Regions from separate parts of the Homo sapiens genome. Here region 2 is linked to region 1. Evidence: promoter capture Hi-C in 16 types of primary human blood cells and fetal thymus (Javierre and others, 2016). All regions are on one chromosome and are shown on one strand. Each heading gives the region's core, a stretch centred on a gene start or on the middle of the fragment in contact. The rest is flanking DNA. Distances are from core to core; before and after follow the strand shown. Region 1 holds the start of STYXL1 (serine/threonine/tyrosine interacting like 1). Region 2 overlaps POM121C (POM121 transmembrane nucleoporin C).

The links. Contacts are between HindIII fragments. The CHiCAGO score rates a contact against its expected background, and 5 or more counts as called.
Region 2: a fragment that was not itself captured here is called in contact with the fragment with the promoter of STYXL1 in region 1 in 2 of 17 cell types (erythroblasts and fetal thymus); the score reaches 7.4 in erythroblasts.

The regions. Positions count from the first base shown.
Region 1 is chr7:76,046,301-76,050,374 of GRCh38, forward strand. STYXL1 (serine/threonine/tyrosine interacting like 1) reads right to left here and starts at 1,700. Exons shown (of 9, transcript NM_001317785.2): 1 at 1,362-1,700. MDH2 (malate dehydrogenase 2) reads left to right here and starts at 1,806. Exons shown (of 9, transcript NM_005918.4): 1 at 1,806-1,926. The coding sequence starts at 1,861. RefSeq lists enhancers at 1,173-1,955, 1,401-1,490, 1,601-1,680, 1,956-2,737 and a silencer at 1,931-2,090. The HindIII fragment of the contact is 1,459 bases long and covers 1,210-2,668 here.
Region 2 is chr7:75,427,185-75,431,258 of GRCh38, forward strand. All of the region lies in intron 7 of POM121C (POM121 transmembrane nucleoporin C), which reads right to left. Among named protein-coding and RNA genes, the nearest start is that of TRIM73, 34 kb to the left of the region's middle. The HindIII fragment of the contact is 2,729 bases long and covers 659-3,387 here.

The DNA.
Region 1 (4,074 bases), core at 450-2,949:
TGTGTGTGTGTGTGTGTGTGTGTGTGTGTGTGTGTGTGTGCGCGCGCGCGCGCGCGCGCTTTTGAGCCGGAGTTTAGCTCTTATCACCCAGGATGGAGTACAATGGCACAATCTTGGCTCACAGCAACCTCCACCTCCTGGGTTCAAGGGATTCTCCTGCCTCAGCCTCCTGAGTAGCTGGGACTACAGGCACACGCCACCATGCCCAGCCAATTTTTGTATATTTAGTAGAGATGGGGTTTCGCCACATTAGCCAGTCTGGTCTCAAACTCCTGACCTCAGGTGATCTGCCCGCCTTGACCTCCCAAAGTGCTGGGATTACAGGCATAAGCCACCACACCCGGCTTTTTTTTTTTTTTTTTTTGAGACAGAGTCTTTCTCCGTCGCCCAAGCTGGAGTACAGTGGGGTTATCTCGGCTCACTGCAACCTCCCTCCACCTCCCGGGTTCAAGCGATTCTCCTGCCTCAGCCTCCGGAGTAGTTGGGGCTACAGGTGTACACCACCACGCTGGGCTAATTTTTGTATTTTTAGTAGAGATGGGGTTTCACCATGTTAGCCAGGCTGGTCATGAACTCCTGGCCTCAAGTGATCGGCCCGCCTCAGCCTCCCAGAGTGCTGGGATTACAGGCATGAGCCACCTTGCCTGGGGGTGTTGTTTAATTTTAAAAATATGTATCAGGCCGGGCGCGGTGGCTCACGCCTGTAATCTCAGCACTTTGGGAGGCCGAGGCGGGTGGATCACGAGGTCAGGAGTTCGAGACCAGCCTGACCAACGTGGTGAAACCCCGTCTCTACTAAAAAAAAAATACAAAAAATTAGCCAGGTGTAGTGGTGCGCTAATCCCAGCTACTCAGGAGAATGAGGCAGGAGAACCACTTGAACCTGACAGGCAGAGGTTGCAGTGAGCCAAGATCGCGCCACTGCACTCCAGCCTGGGCTAGAGAGACTCCGTCTCAAAAAAATAAATAAATTCATACATTTAAGTAATAAACTCATTGTGAGCAAGGAATTCTACTCGACTTTCTGTCTGCGTAAACTCTACAAATCCACTTGGCCTCAGCCACAGTGTCTTTATTCGTAAAGCAGAAACAGTGGGACCGTCAGAGCACTGCCGGGCAGGCGAGAGAAGACAGGAACTGTATGACCACGGAAGTTGTTGTCCCTACAACCTATTTGCTCATCTGGAACACAGAATAGTGGTCCTCTAAAGCTTGCAGGGCTGGAGGTCGCCATTATCAGCAGTGGTGTCACTAAACCTGAACCCAAGGGTCTCTGCAACTTGGGAAACGACGGCCCGGATCTGAGGAGATGGCCCCTTCCTCCCACCCCGCCTAAGGACTCTCAGCCTCCCTGACCCTACCTTTCCGGAGCTCAGAGTCCCCTCTGGCCTCCAAGGGCAGAAGGAATGGGTTTGGCTGAGGTCGGGGGCTCGGGTCTGGGACGCGCTCCACCTCCCCGGCTGCGCGACTATGGCCAGGCTCCCTGTCGGAGCCTCTGCCTGGGGCCCCACCTGGAAAAATGGCTCCTCTAAGGCGCTTCCAGCCTAAAGCCCGTCCTCTTCCACCTCTTGGGTGCAGACTGGCCCTCCCACTCCGACCGCAGGTCCCCCACCGGCCACACAGACGGCTACGCTAGAACCCAGCCAAACACCGGGGTTGCCAGGATGGTCCCACAGCTTTCCTTTCCGACTCCCGGAAGTGGCCGTGATCTCACGAGATCCCGGAGGCGAGCGCGACCGGAAGTCCGGTCACTCTCGCGAGGCCCCAGAGAGCAGGCGCTGGGCAGTGTGGAGGTCGTTGGAGTCACTTCCCCGTCACCAGCTCCTGTGCCTGCCAGTCGGTGCCCCTCCCGCTCCAGCCATGCTCTCCGCCCTCGCCCGGCCTGCCAGCGCTGCTCTCCGCCGCAGCTTCAGCACCTCGGCCCAGGTAGGCCAGACGAGGGGCGGCCTGCAGGCGGAGGCCCCCCGGCCCGGGCCACGTGCGTCCCCGGTTCGCGGGCAGCTCTGACCCTCTCCAGGCCAGCCTGGACCGCAGGGATGCCCGGCACTGGCTGGAGACTGTGGCGCCCGGGGCAGGCCCTGACACTGGCCTGGAGGTGCGGGGGAGAAAGCCGGGGAAAAGGGGGCGAGGTAGTCCCGCTCCAGGGCCGGTCCATTTGTCAGGGTTCCCCCAGGTCTCCCAGATTTCCCAGAGGACCTGCTCTTGGCTTGCACGCCTTCAAGGTTGGGAAACCAGGGCTCTGCATCTGAAAGTAAACTTACGTTTTTTTCTGCAGCGTTCCATTGCTTTGACGTAGCTAATCTCCTTGCAGCATCCGTGTGAGTTGTGCGTGAATAAAAGAAATCGTATACTTCCTAATTCCATAGTATGGACAAACCGAGGCTAGAGAACTGGGCCAGGGTTACAGTCATTTGGCCAGAGGATTAGAATTCAGCGCTTCTGACCTGAAGACGGCTTCCTCTTAACCTTTTTGGAGGATCTCTCCTGCTGTGGGCGGACTGAGCCTGCCGCCAGGTGTCTTAACAGTGCTTGACTTGGCCCGCGACCACTTAAGCCTAGGAGCCTAGGCTATTTTTAGCCATCTTCTAGAATGGTGGTTCTTAAACTCTGCAGTGTGTCAGAATCACCAGAAAGCTAATAAAAAACAGACGTCTGGGTTCATTGAAGAAGCTTAAGACTGCGGGGGGGGGGGGGGGGGTCCGCATTTTTACCAGGTGAATCTAATTAAACCTAATTTTGAGAACCCAGGAGGTGCTCGCATTGCCTTTTAATTACGACGCCCAAGAGGGAGGTAATTTTAAAGGGGAATCCAAATTTATCATCGAAGTTCTCGAGTTTCCTGTACATCCAGTTCATTTGAAAAATAAATACAAATGCTCCTGGATTGATGGCTACTTCCCATACCCATCGCAAGTTGGTAATATCCTAAGTCAAAAGGCGAGTTTAACTTTGTGTATTTTCAACTTGCAATGGGTTCCCACAGGCAACCCCATTGTAAGTTGAATGTACCAAATGCTTTTGCGCTGCGGTGAAGTGGGGGCCCAGCTGTATACAGATAAGTACATTAAGTACCTGTGCTTGCCAACAACTATGCTGGGTGCTGCAGGGGATACCAAGATAAGTGAGAAGTGACACTTGATATGGGACAGGAATGAGTAAACTTAGGACAGGTGGAAGCGATGAAGGTCTTAGGGAATGAGTAAACTTAGGACAGGTGGAGGCGATGAAGGTCTTAGGGAATGAGTAAACAGGACAGGAGGGATGAGGTGTGGGGGAGGGGCAGCCAACCAAAGAGAGGACAGGGGTGTCCAGGGAGAGGTTGAGTTTTGGTAGGACCTTCAGATATCCGACATATTTATTGAGCTAGGTACTGGAAATACAGCGGTGAACAAAACACAGAAGTCCCTGCTCTCACGGAAATTACTAGATATTTTACTTATTGCCCCACTCATTATAAAGTATCTTAAAATAGTGATGAACATGCAAGAAAAATGGGGATTGTAGGGTGCTTGTGTTAGGGAAGAGGGTACCAATTTTATTTACTTTTTTTGATGCAGTGCCTCGCCCTGTCGACAGGCTGGAGTGCAGTGGCGTGATCTCGGTTCACTGCAGCCTCCACCTCCCAGGTTGGAGCGATTCTCCTGCCTCAGCCTCCCGAATAGCTGGGACTACAGGCGCGCACCACCGTGCCCAGCTAATTTTTGTGTTTTTAGTAGAGATGGGGTTTCACCATGTTGGCCAGGATGGACCTGACAGAGTCCCACTCTGTTGCCCAGGATGGAGTGCAGTGGCGCCATCTTGGCTCACTGCAACCAACTCTTGGGCTCAAGCTATCCTCCTGCCTCATCCTCCCGAGTAGGTGGGAATCACAGGCAAGGGCTACGACAGCTGGGTAATTTTTGTAGTTTTAGTAGAGATGGGGTTTCACCATGTTGGCCAGGCTGGTCTCAAACTCCTGGCCTTAAGTGATCCACCCTCCTTGGCCTCCCAAAGTGCTGGGATTACAGGCGTGAGCCACCACTCCCAGCCGAGGGTAGCAGTTTTACATCAGCCAGGGTAGGCCTCACGCAGAGT
Region 2 (4,074 bases), core at 773-3,272, 620 kb before region 1:
GGAGGCCAAGGGGGGTGGATCACGAGGTCAGGAGATGGAGACCATCTTGGCTAACACAGTGAAATCCCATCTCTACTAAAAATACAAAAAAATACAAAAAATTAGCTGGGCGTGGTGGCGGGTGCTTGTAGTCCCAGCTACTCGGGAGGCTGAGGCAGGAGAATGGCGTAAACCTGGGGGGCGGAGCTTGAAGTGAGCCAAGATCGTGCCACTGCACTCCAGCCTGGGTGACAGAGTGAGACTCTGTCTCAAAAAGAAACAAAAAACAAAAACAAAAACAAAAAAAGCACTGTCATAATATTTATGACTTTTGCAACAACGATGGCATTTATCATCATGTGATGATTATCCATACATCTGCCTCTTCCACCAGGTGAGTTCTTGACAGCAAAGATGGTGTTTTCATCTCTGCTTCCTCCACAGACCAGCAGCAAAGTAGATGGCACAGAGCGGACACTGCAAATAGTCTCGTAAGTGCTGAGCCTAATTACAAAGCCACTAAACTGTCACCTCAGACCGTCTTTCCTACTTGAAAAGCTGCTAGTGATTTCTTACCCAGTACCAGCTACATCATATAAGTACAAACAGGAAGCCAACAAGCTTAATAAGTACAAACAGGAAGCCAAGCTTAATAAGAGTTCAAAAAGGGAAAAGAGGAAGCTTCAGACAAGTGGTAAGCAGCAGAACAGTTCAGTGAGGCCATCATCAGGAAGCCGGGCCCAGGAGGAGCTTGAGAAGACTGCTCACGGCAATAACAGTTGAAGTTACGCTCAAACAGCAAGAAAGGCCAGAGCACAATGGTTTAAAAAACATGGGATTACAGGCATATAAAAGAGCAGAATACAAAAACTCATCAAAGGGATCCAAGGATTGAATATATAAGCGGCATTTTCAATCACTTCAGATCCCTGACACTACCTCGCTGGTTCTCACACGACGGCTCATCAGTCACCTGTGGAACTTTTTTTTTTTTTGAGACGGAGCCTTGCTCTGTCACCAGGCTGGAGTGCAGTGGCACGATCTCACCTCACTGCAACCTCCGCCTCCCTGGTTCAAGCGATTCTCCTGCCTCAGCCTCCTGAGTAGCTGGGACTACAGGAGCATGCCACCACAGCCGGCTAATTTTTGTATCTTTAGTAGAGATGGGGTTTCACCATGTTGGCCAGGATGGTCTTGATCTCTTGACCTCGTGATCTGCCCGCCTTGGCCTCCCAAAGCACTAGGATTACAGGTGTGAGCCACCACGCTTAGCCACCTGTGGAACTTTAAAAGCACATAGATGGCCAAGTGCAGTGGCTCATGCCTGTAATCCTAGCACTTTGGGAGACTGAGGCAGGAGAACTGCTTGAGCCCAGGAGTTTCAGACCAGCCTGGGCAACACAGAAAGACCCTATCTGTAGTTAAAGTAATAAAATTAAAACAAAACCATAAACCTTGCATTTTTGTTCACAATGTGCTCCAGACACTGAGGGATACACATCACTGAGCAAGCAAGGGTCAGAAATGCCAAAGGGGCCGGATGAGGTGGCTCATGCCTGTAATCCCAGCACTTCAGGAGGCTGAGGCAGGAGGATCACCTGAGGTCAGGAGTTCGAGAACAGTGTGGCCAACATGGTGAAACCTCATCTCTACTAGAAATACAAAAATTAGCCAGGTGTGGTGGTGCATGCCTGTAATCCCAACACTTTGGGAGGCCAAGGTGGGAGGATCACTTGAGCCCAAGAGTTTTGAGACCAGCCTAGGCAATATAGTGAGGTCTCTTCAAGGAAAAAAAAAAAAAAAAGCCAAAGGTGACTGTAATGATTAGCTAGGACTGGAAGACAACTGGTCAACTGGTTTAACAATTAGGGGAAAAAAGTTATTACTCCTCTACTTCATTGACTGTACGTACACACTCATTTCAGATATAACAAGACAAGGATGTTTATTATTATGTCTATTCAACTCAAAGTCCTAGCCAAGTGCAGTAAGACATAAACAGAATAAGACTGCAGAGGGAAGGAAAAACTCATTATCATAGACATGAGTGTATGTACTAAAATCCTAAAGAACATACAGATTTAGCAAACTTTCTGAATACAAAATCAGTTGTATTTCTAGACACCAGCACAGCCAATCACATTTTGAAGACACTATTTATAATAGCATCAAAACCATATACCTAGGGCCAGGCACTGTGGCTCATGCCTATAATCCCAGCACTCTGGGAAGCAGAGGCAGGTGGATCACTTGAGGTCAGGAGTTTGAGACCAGCCTGGCCAACAAGGTGAAATCCTGTCTCTACTAAAACTCCAAAATTAGCCAGGTGTGGTGGCGCATGCCTGTAATCTCGGCTACTTGGAACGCTGAGGCAGGAGAATCACTTGAACCCGGGAGGTGGAGGGTGCAGTGAGCCGAGATTGTGCCACTGCACTCCAGCCTGGGCGACAGAGCGAGACTCCATCTCACAAAACAAAACAAAAACCAGATACCTAGAAATAAATCTAATACAAGAGAAGTAAAACTTCTACAGAGATGAATTAGAGATAATGTAAATAAATGAAAGAGGTGGGACATGGTGGTTCATGCCTATAATTCCAGCACTCAGAGAGGCCAAGGTGGGAAGACTGCTTGAGCTCAAAAGTTTGAGACCAGCCTAGGCAACACAGTGAGACCTTGTCTCTACTATAAGTTTTTTAAAATTAGCTAGGTGTGGTGATGCATGCCTGTACTCAAAAGGCTGAGGCAGGAGGATTGCTTGAGCCTGGGATTTCAAGGCAGTAGTGAGCTATGATCATGCCACTGCACTCCAGCCTGGGCCACAGAGCAAGACCCCTTGTCTCAAAAGTTAAATAAAGAAATGAATGACATTCCATGTTCATAGATTAGAAGTAAACAAGGTCAATATTATAACAATGTTAACTCCATCCAAAGTAATCAGTAGATGAAAGGCAATCCCAATCAGTATCTCAAAACTTTTTTTTGTGTGTGTGGAAATTGACAAGTTGATCTAAAAATTATATGAAAATGCAAAAGGCCAAGAAACAAGACAGTCCTGAAAAGAAATGAGAAAGGGGGACGACTGACTCTATCAAGACTTAAAGTATAAGGGTAGGGGTAAAACAAAGACTGGTACAAGGGTAGTAAGAAAAATAGTCCAATGGAACAAAAGAAAGTCTAGAAATGGACCCACATATATACGGACACTTAAATTAGACAAAGGCAGTGCTGCAGAGAAATAAGGATGGTCCTTTCAATAAATGTTGCTGAGAGAAATGGGTATTTCTATAGTAAAAAACAAACAAACAAACAAAAAAAACTAATTTTGATCCCAACCTCACACCACACACAAAAATCAATTTCAGGTGGATTATGGATTTACATATGAAAATATTAATAAAATAATAAAGCTTCTAGAAGGTAGCATAGAAGAAAATTATCATGACCTTAGGTTGGACAGGCAAAGATTTCCTAAATACTACACAAACTATGCTAACTACAAGGAAGTAGAATGGCAAGAGCAGGACACTTTTGTTGTAACACATACATGACAGAGAGCTTGTATCTAGAATATATAAAAAGCATATTCAAATCTCTGAGAAAAAGACAACTTAGTAGAAAAGAGCCAAGAGGCCAGGCGCGGTGGCTCATGCCTGTAATCCCAGAACTTTGGGAGACTGAGGTGGGCAGATCATGAGGTCAGGAGATTGAGACCATCCTGGCTAACATGGTGAAACCCTGTCTTTACTAAAAATACAAAAAATTAGCTGGGTGTGGTGGCAGGTGCCCGCAGTCCCAGCTACTCGGGAGGCTGAGGCAGGAGAATGGCGTGAACCCGGGAGGCGGAGCTTGCAGTGAGCCCAGATCGCATCACTGCACTCCAGCCTGGTGACAGAGCGAGACTCTGTCTCAAAAAAAAAAAAAAAAAAAAAAAAAAAGAGCCAAGAAATTTGAACAGGCATCTCACAAAAGAGGCTATACAAATAGCCAATAAACAGTTGGTATTTCAGTAATCAGGGAAATGCAAATTAAAACCACAATGAAATATTACTTCACACTTAGCAGAATGGCTAAAGAGACTGGCAATACCAAGTG